2 separate regions of the Homo sapiens genome follow, and region 1 is linked to region 2. Evidence: promoter capture Hi-C in 16 types of primary human blood cells and fetal thymus (Javierre and others, 2016). All regions are on one chromosome and are shown on one strand. The core of a region is centred on a gene start or on the middle of the fragment in contact, and the rest is flanking DNA. Distances in the headings are between cores, read along the strand shown. Region 1 overlaps PPIL1 (peptidylprolyl isomerase like 1). Region 2 holds the start of SRSF3 (serine and arginine rich splicing factor 3).

What was found. Contacts are between HindIII fragments. The CHiCAGO score rates a contact against its expected background, and 5 or more counts as called.
Region 1: a fragment that was not itself captured here is called in contact with the fragment with the promoter of SRSF3 in region 2 in 1 of 17 cell types (M0 macrophages); the score reaches 5.1 in M0 macrophages.

What each region holds. Positions count from the first base shown.
Region 1 is chr6:36,851,751-36,854,920 of GRCh38, forward strand. PPIL1 (peptidylprolyl isomerase like 1) reads right to left here. Exons shown (of 4, transcript NM_016059.5): 4 at 3,079-3,170. Among named protein-coding and RNA genes, the nearest start is that of CPNE5, 14 kb to the left of the region's middle. The HindIII fragment of the contact is 467 bases long and covers 1,322-1,788 here.
Region 2 is chr6:36,592,838-36,596,282 of GRCh38, forward strand. It overlaps SRSF3 (serine and arginine rich splicing factor 3), which reads left to right and starts at 1,525. Exons shown (of 6, transcript NM_003017.5): 1 at 1,525-1,644. RefSeq lists enhancers at 1,033-1,192, 1,301-1,982, 1,583-1,812. The HindIII fragment of the contact is 2,162 bases long and covers 1-1,978 here.

The sequences.
Region 1 (3,170 bases), core at 305-2,804, 260 kb after region 2:
GTGCTTCTTTGTAAGCGGTAAACTCCACCGCTTTAACGTGCTTTTCAATGCTTCCTCCTCCACATGTTGCAAGAATATGGTGCCAAAAGGGGCCCCAGTGATGGCTCTGACTGGCTTGAGGATCTGGGGGCAGCAATCGTGTTTGTGTGGGGAAAGCTATTTTGACATATTCTGGAGACACAATCCAAAAATACATCAGGCTGAGGACTTCCAGAGAGCTCAGTGGAAAGGCTTGGCTGCCATACCAGCTGAAGCCTGGGTTTGGAGAGTTGGGGTACAGCAATTTCTACAAGAGGATCTCAATCTTTTTCTGATGGAGAACATTTTATTTGATACATTCAGCAATAACCTCAAATTACTACACAAGGTGCTGGGAAGACTTACAGAGGGGAGTAAGACAAGGTCCTTGTTCTCAGAGGTTAGCCCAGTGGGAGGGAGAAGCTGTGAGGTGAGAGGCTGAGACAGGTCAGGCTGTGTATATGTCGAGATGAAGAGGTAGGACAGGTGTGTGGTGGCTTCAAGGGCCACTGGTAGTAACAACAACTAGCATTTTGGGGGTGTTTTCTAAATGCCAGTTCCTGTTCTAAATACCTGTTCTAGCTCATTTAATCTTCACAATAGCCCTTGAAGTTTGGCCCATTATTCTCATTTTATAGTGGAAGAAACTAAAGCACAGAGAAATTAAGAAACTTAAGTTCATGCTGCTGCTAAGTGGTGGAGCTGGGATCTGAACCCCGACAGTCAGGTTCCAGAGCTCTTTCCCCCAATGTCATCTTTGTTGATGCTCTTTTCCCTGCATTTTCTGTGATGTCTACTGATCACCCAATCTCACCCACCCTGGTGTCCACACAAGGTATCTCAGTGCCACATACCAGGGTCTGAAGTCCATGTTGTACTGCTGTGGGAACAGAACACTTTCATAAAGCTCAATCCCAGTAGCCAAAGCCAGCAGCTTATGTTAAAGCTCATCGTGTGCTTTGAATCTCTTCACTCTTCCAAGACCACCAGGATGAGGTGGAGAGCTCTGCTCCAGGAGGCATAAGATTGGTTCATGGTCCTGACTGCCCTTGCTCTTAGGGAAACCCCCCCTCCCCAGTTTCATGTTGGACAAATGTGACCTCTAGGACCTCACTACTCAAAGGGTGGTGTCTGGACCGGCAGTCACCATCTCCTGGGAGCTGGCGAGAACTGCAGACTCTCTGGCTGAGTGCTGAGTCAGAAGCTGCTTCCTAACAGGCTCCCTCAGTGATTCCTGCATGTAGTCATGTGAGAAGCCCTGGGCTAGGGCCCTTGGGCCATATTCTTTATAGTCTGTGTGCCAAGCTTCTCTTATCCATCATCCCAGGGGCACCTGTTTGAAAGCCTTTTCCACTGGTGTATCTACTTCCAACTTTAAGCCTTCTCCAAATGTCTAGAATCTCTTTCCCTTCCCCCACGAGAAGCAGCAGAGAGCTGTCTCTCTCCTGTGCCTTGATGAGCCCCCCATGGTCCTCCACACCTATCTTCAATAATCCCCATCCAAGTTTTAAACTTATCCTTGTTTTCTCCTGATAAGCCAGGAGAAAGCTCACCACCCTCACCGTGATGAGATGTAACAAAAATGAACTATCTCTAGTACACCCCACTTTTATGAGACCTGTCTCAATGGTACTAATCCTGACAGGATGTAGACACTCATATGACCAAAGAATTAAGCAGGATTCCTTTTAGATGAGCTTCCCTTATAAGGAAACGGGAACTTCTACAACTCTGGCTAACTGGCAGAACCACAAATTGTGAAACAATTCAAGCTTCACTCTCTGAGGTCATATCCTCTATGAAAACTGGTATGTGCCCACGTGACTGCCTTAGCATGGATTTGGTGTCCCTTTCCAAAAACAAGGAACTGTGCCTGTGTGGCTCTCCTCCCAAGGCATGCAGAACCTTCTTTGCTTCAGAGTAGCCATGATACGTTTCCACCACGCCTGTGCCTTGGATGAAAGTGGAGATTTTCAGGATTACGATTCTGGGAGGTTAGTGAACAGGTGCTATTCCTTGCTCTCAGAGGCAGATCCAATTATGTCCACCCAGTTCAGGCTGAAAGAAATACATTTCTATTTTTTCCAGAGTGTAGAACACTACTTTGCATACAAAAACCATCTCTGGGAAGTTACAAAGTCATTTATATGGTTTGTTGTTGGGTTTTGCTTTTTTGCTATTGAGAGAAAAGAGAAAGGTAGAGAAAGAGGTTGAAGGTAGGGAAGGCTTGGGGAACAGAACCTTGTTTGGCCATTCCATAAAGTAAATCACCATTTCCAAAATTGATAGAGTAGTAAGAAACATTAAAGTTATAATCCCCTCTTCAAGGAGCTACCAGCTTAAGGAACCAAACACCACAACATATACTGCCTCTGGTCCCATAATAATGTGCAGGTGGGCTCTCTGCAAATTCCAGGGATGGTGCAGGTCTCTTAGCACATACACCTGGTTCACTTACAGGTAATCCCCCCAACATGGTTTGGCTCTGTGTCCCCACCCAAATCTCATCTCGAATTGTAATCCTCTGTGTCGAGGGAGGGATCTGGTGGGAGGTGACTGATCATGGGGCATTTTCCCCCTGCATGCTGTTCTCACGATAGTGAGGGAGATCTCATGAGATCTGATGGTTTAAATATGGTGGTTTCCCCCGTGCTCGCTCTCTCTCCTGCCACCTTGTAAAGAAGGTGCTTGCTTCTCCTTTGCCTTCCACCATTATTGTAAGTTTCCTGAGGTCTCCCTAGCCATGTGGAACTGTGAGTCAATTAAACCTCTCTTGTTTATAAATTACCTAGTCTCAGGTAGTGTCTTTATAGCAATGTGAAAACAGATGAATACACCTCTTATTCAGAAATGTCAATTTCTGTCACTTAATTCTTTCTCTGGTTCTGCCCTTTTAAAGTTAGAATTGCTCTTAAAGAGGGAGAAGTCTACTGGAGATCCACAAGCCTAAAATGATGTGAAATCTTGAACATTCAATCTCTGTACTACTACTTAAGATGACTGGGATTAAAATGACCATTGGAACCTCATACAATATTTAGAATCAGACCACAGCAGCAATTTCAACCATCAATGGCATTTTATTGTGGAAGTTTCTATGTATTACATAGGTATTAACTTCCTTCCTCTCCTGCTCCTCCCCACAAAATCCA
Region 2 (3,445 bases), core at 275-2,774:
ACCACAATAAGAGGTAAGGCTTCAAAAGAAAAATACCTGGGAAAGTTAAAACATATTAATTGGCTGGCCGGGTGCTGTGGCTCACGCCTGTAATACCAGCACTTTGGGAGGCCGAGGCGGGAGAATCGCCTGAGGTGGCGAGTTCGAGACCAGCCTGACCAGCATGGTGAAACCCCGTCTCTATTAAAAATACAAAAATTAGCCGGGTGTGGTGGCAGGTGCCTGTAATCCCAGCTACTCGGGAAGCTGAGGTAGGCGAATCGCTTGAACCCGGGAGGCGGAGTTTGCAGTGAGCCGAGGTCGCGCCATTGCACTCCAGCCTGGGCAACAGAACGAGACTCCATCTCAAGAAAAAAAAAAAAAGAAAAAAGAAAAAAAAAAACATAATAATTGGCATATCTTTCAGCTAAGAGGGAATAAATAAAAAGACAGGTTCTTTTTCTCTCTTTTTTTTTTTGTGCAGTGGTAGGATCTCAGCTCACGGCAACCTCCGCCTCCTGGGTTCAAGCGATTCTCCTGCTCTCAGCCTCCCAAGTAGCTGGGATTACAGGCGCCTGCCACCATGCCCGGCCATTTGTATTTTTAATAGAGACGGGATTTCACCATGTTGGCCAGGCTGGTCTTGAACTCCTGACCTCAAGTGATCCGCCTGCCTCGGCCTCCCAAAGTGCTGGGATTACAGGCATGAGCCACCGCGCCCGGCCCTTGGTGATTTTTCTAACCCAATCACAGTCTCTCTCCCCTTAATTACTCTTGCGGCTCTGTCTTCGTAAGGGAAGTGGCCCGGACAAAATACATGCCAGGCAGTGCAACGGCTGCTAGGAGAAAGGCTCGAGATACCCCTCCTGGCATTTGCTTGGGGGCCAGAATTTACATTCAATCTTCTTCAGAAACTTCCCTTTCCGGGTGTTTGCTAAAGGTGATAGTTTCCAGGTCACCTGACCGGTCTCCTTTGCTGTCGGCGCCAAGTCCTGCAAGTTTGCTTGAGAGACGAGAAACCAGCAAGAGTTGGGCAAACTTTCCAAACCAGGCTTTTCCTTCAGTGTGGAATCTAGGCGGCCACAGTCTGGTGCCAGCTGGGTCACAAACAGCTCCGTGACCTGTTTGTAAACGCGATGCTCTTAGTTCCAGACTAACCGCTCACAAGGGTGAAGCACTTAATTAATTCATCTCTTAATCTTGTTAGGGGCCAACGGCTCCTATTAGTGTTTGAGCGTGACGGCGACGGTGCTGTTTATGAAGCCCTAGCCTATTTGGAGGTGAGGAAGAGGAGTCTGTGGGTAACCTGGAGGTCGACAGACCGGGAGGAACGCTCGAGGGAGCACCAGGCCTGTTACAACGAGCGCGCGCCGACGCACGTCTCCACCCACCCGGCGCAACCGCCAGAGCGCGCTCCCAGCAACCGCGGCTCTCGCTGCGTTTGTAGCCATACGTCACGGCCTCTTCTGCTTCTCATTGGGGGAGCCCGTCCAATCATGTGATTCCAGTATGGCGTATAAATAAAGGCGAGGAGAAGGCGGTGGTCCGCCATTTCGTGGACGCCGGGTGAGTGAGAGAGTTGGTTGGTGTTGGGCCGGAGGAAAGCGGGAAGACTCATCGGAGCGTGTGGATTTGAGCCGCCGCATTTTTTAACCCTAGATCTCGGTAAGAGACCAGCGAAAGAGGGAATGAGGTGGAAATGGAATTTAACAGTACCAAGGAGCCAGGCCCAATGGCGGCGCCAGATTGAGACAAAGAGGCGCCGCCGCCATTTTGTGACGTTCAGCACGGGGCGGTGGCGGGGGCTCCCGGCCCATCGGAGGGTTTCCTAGTCTTGGAGTGGAAGTCTTTATATTCCTCATTGGGGCATGAGCCAGGATGGGGGTTACCTGGGAGTTGGGAACCACAAAGGGGAGCCGATAGCCGAGTTGTATTCCAGGTCACGGCCTTTTTATTTTTATGGCGCCTTTTTTTTTTTTGGCCCCTCATTTAATTGGGAAGCTTCTCAGAATGTTTTTGTAAAGTCACTAACCAAGACCGGACCTTTCAGTTCATATTAAATGGCCCCCGTAGTCACCTTACTTTCATGTAGTTTCAGATTTTGCAGCCTGAATCTAATCACCTTTTTCTAAGACCGAAAGATCTTCCTTGAACTTAAGATTCGTTCTTTCATCGCTTCCCATTAAAATGGAGGCTTAAGACAGGTGCCAGCAGTGTTTTTAAAAATTTTCACCAGTGGTTTGGTCTTAGAACTTACTCCTGGGCACAGGGTGTGGTCACGGCAAATAGGATGTGTCTGGACTGGATATTTTAATTAGACAAGCCCAGAGTAAGAAGAACGTGGTGTTTATGGAAAGCACTTCAGCTGAATTATTGAGTAGATGGTTTTTATGTAATTGAAACTGGTCTACAAGTTTATCAGATTCATCGTCGAAGTGACTCAGTAATAAAGCTTTATCAAATACAAGTCCGCCAAGGAAGAACAAAAAAATAAGTCCCCAAAGTGCAGTAAATTTTTTAGTAGCAAATATCTCTTTGTAATTTTTTATTAAAGTGAAATTATCTTTAAGTGGTATTTAGTATATTCAGTGTTGTGTAATCATCACTTACACGTAGTTCCAAAACATTTCCGTCACCTCCCCCCGCAGGAGACTACTACCCATTGAGCACTTACTCCCAGATTCCCTGTCCCCCTTCCTCTAGTCCCTAGCAACCACTAATCTTCCTGTCTCTCTGAACTTAGCTATTTTAGATATTTAGTATTTATGGAATCGTGTACTTTTATGTCTGGCTTCTTTAACTTAGCGTAATGTTTTCAAGATTTTCCAACGTTGGAGGATTTGTCAGTACATCATTCTGAATAATACTCATTTTATGTCTATACCACATTTTGCTTATCCGTTTCTGTTGATGGACATTTGGGTTAACATCTTTGGGCTACTGTGAATAAGTGCTACTATGAGTTTACATTTTTTAAAAAACTGTAAAGTTGGTCTCGTTGCTTGATAAATTTTTACCGCGTAAGACTCTGGTCTATCTAATGACATTTGATACTAGCCTTGTTCCTATAGTTCCAAATGACCAAAATAGGCATTTATTTATTTATTTATTTGTGGTTTTTTTTTGGCGATGGAATCTCGCTCTGTCGCCGAGGCTGGAGTGCAGTGGCGCGATCTCGGCTCACTGCCACCTCCGCCTCGCGGGTTCAAGCGATTGTTCTGCCTCAGCCTCCCGAGTAGCTGGGACTACAGGTGTGCGCCACCATGCCCGGCTAATTTTTGTATTTTTAGTTGTGACGGGGTTTCACCATATTGGCCAGGCTGGGTCGAACTCCTGACCTCGTGATTCGCCCGCCTCGGCTTCCCAAAAGTTCTGGGATTGCAGGTGTGAGCCGCCGCGCCCGGTCCATGGGCATTTTTTTAAAAGTGAAAATCGTTGGCCTTATTTTTATTAAAGCTGGTAAGTT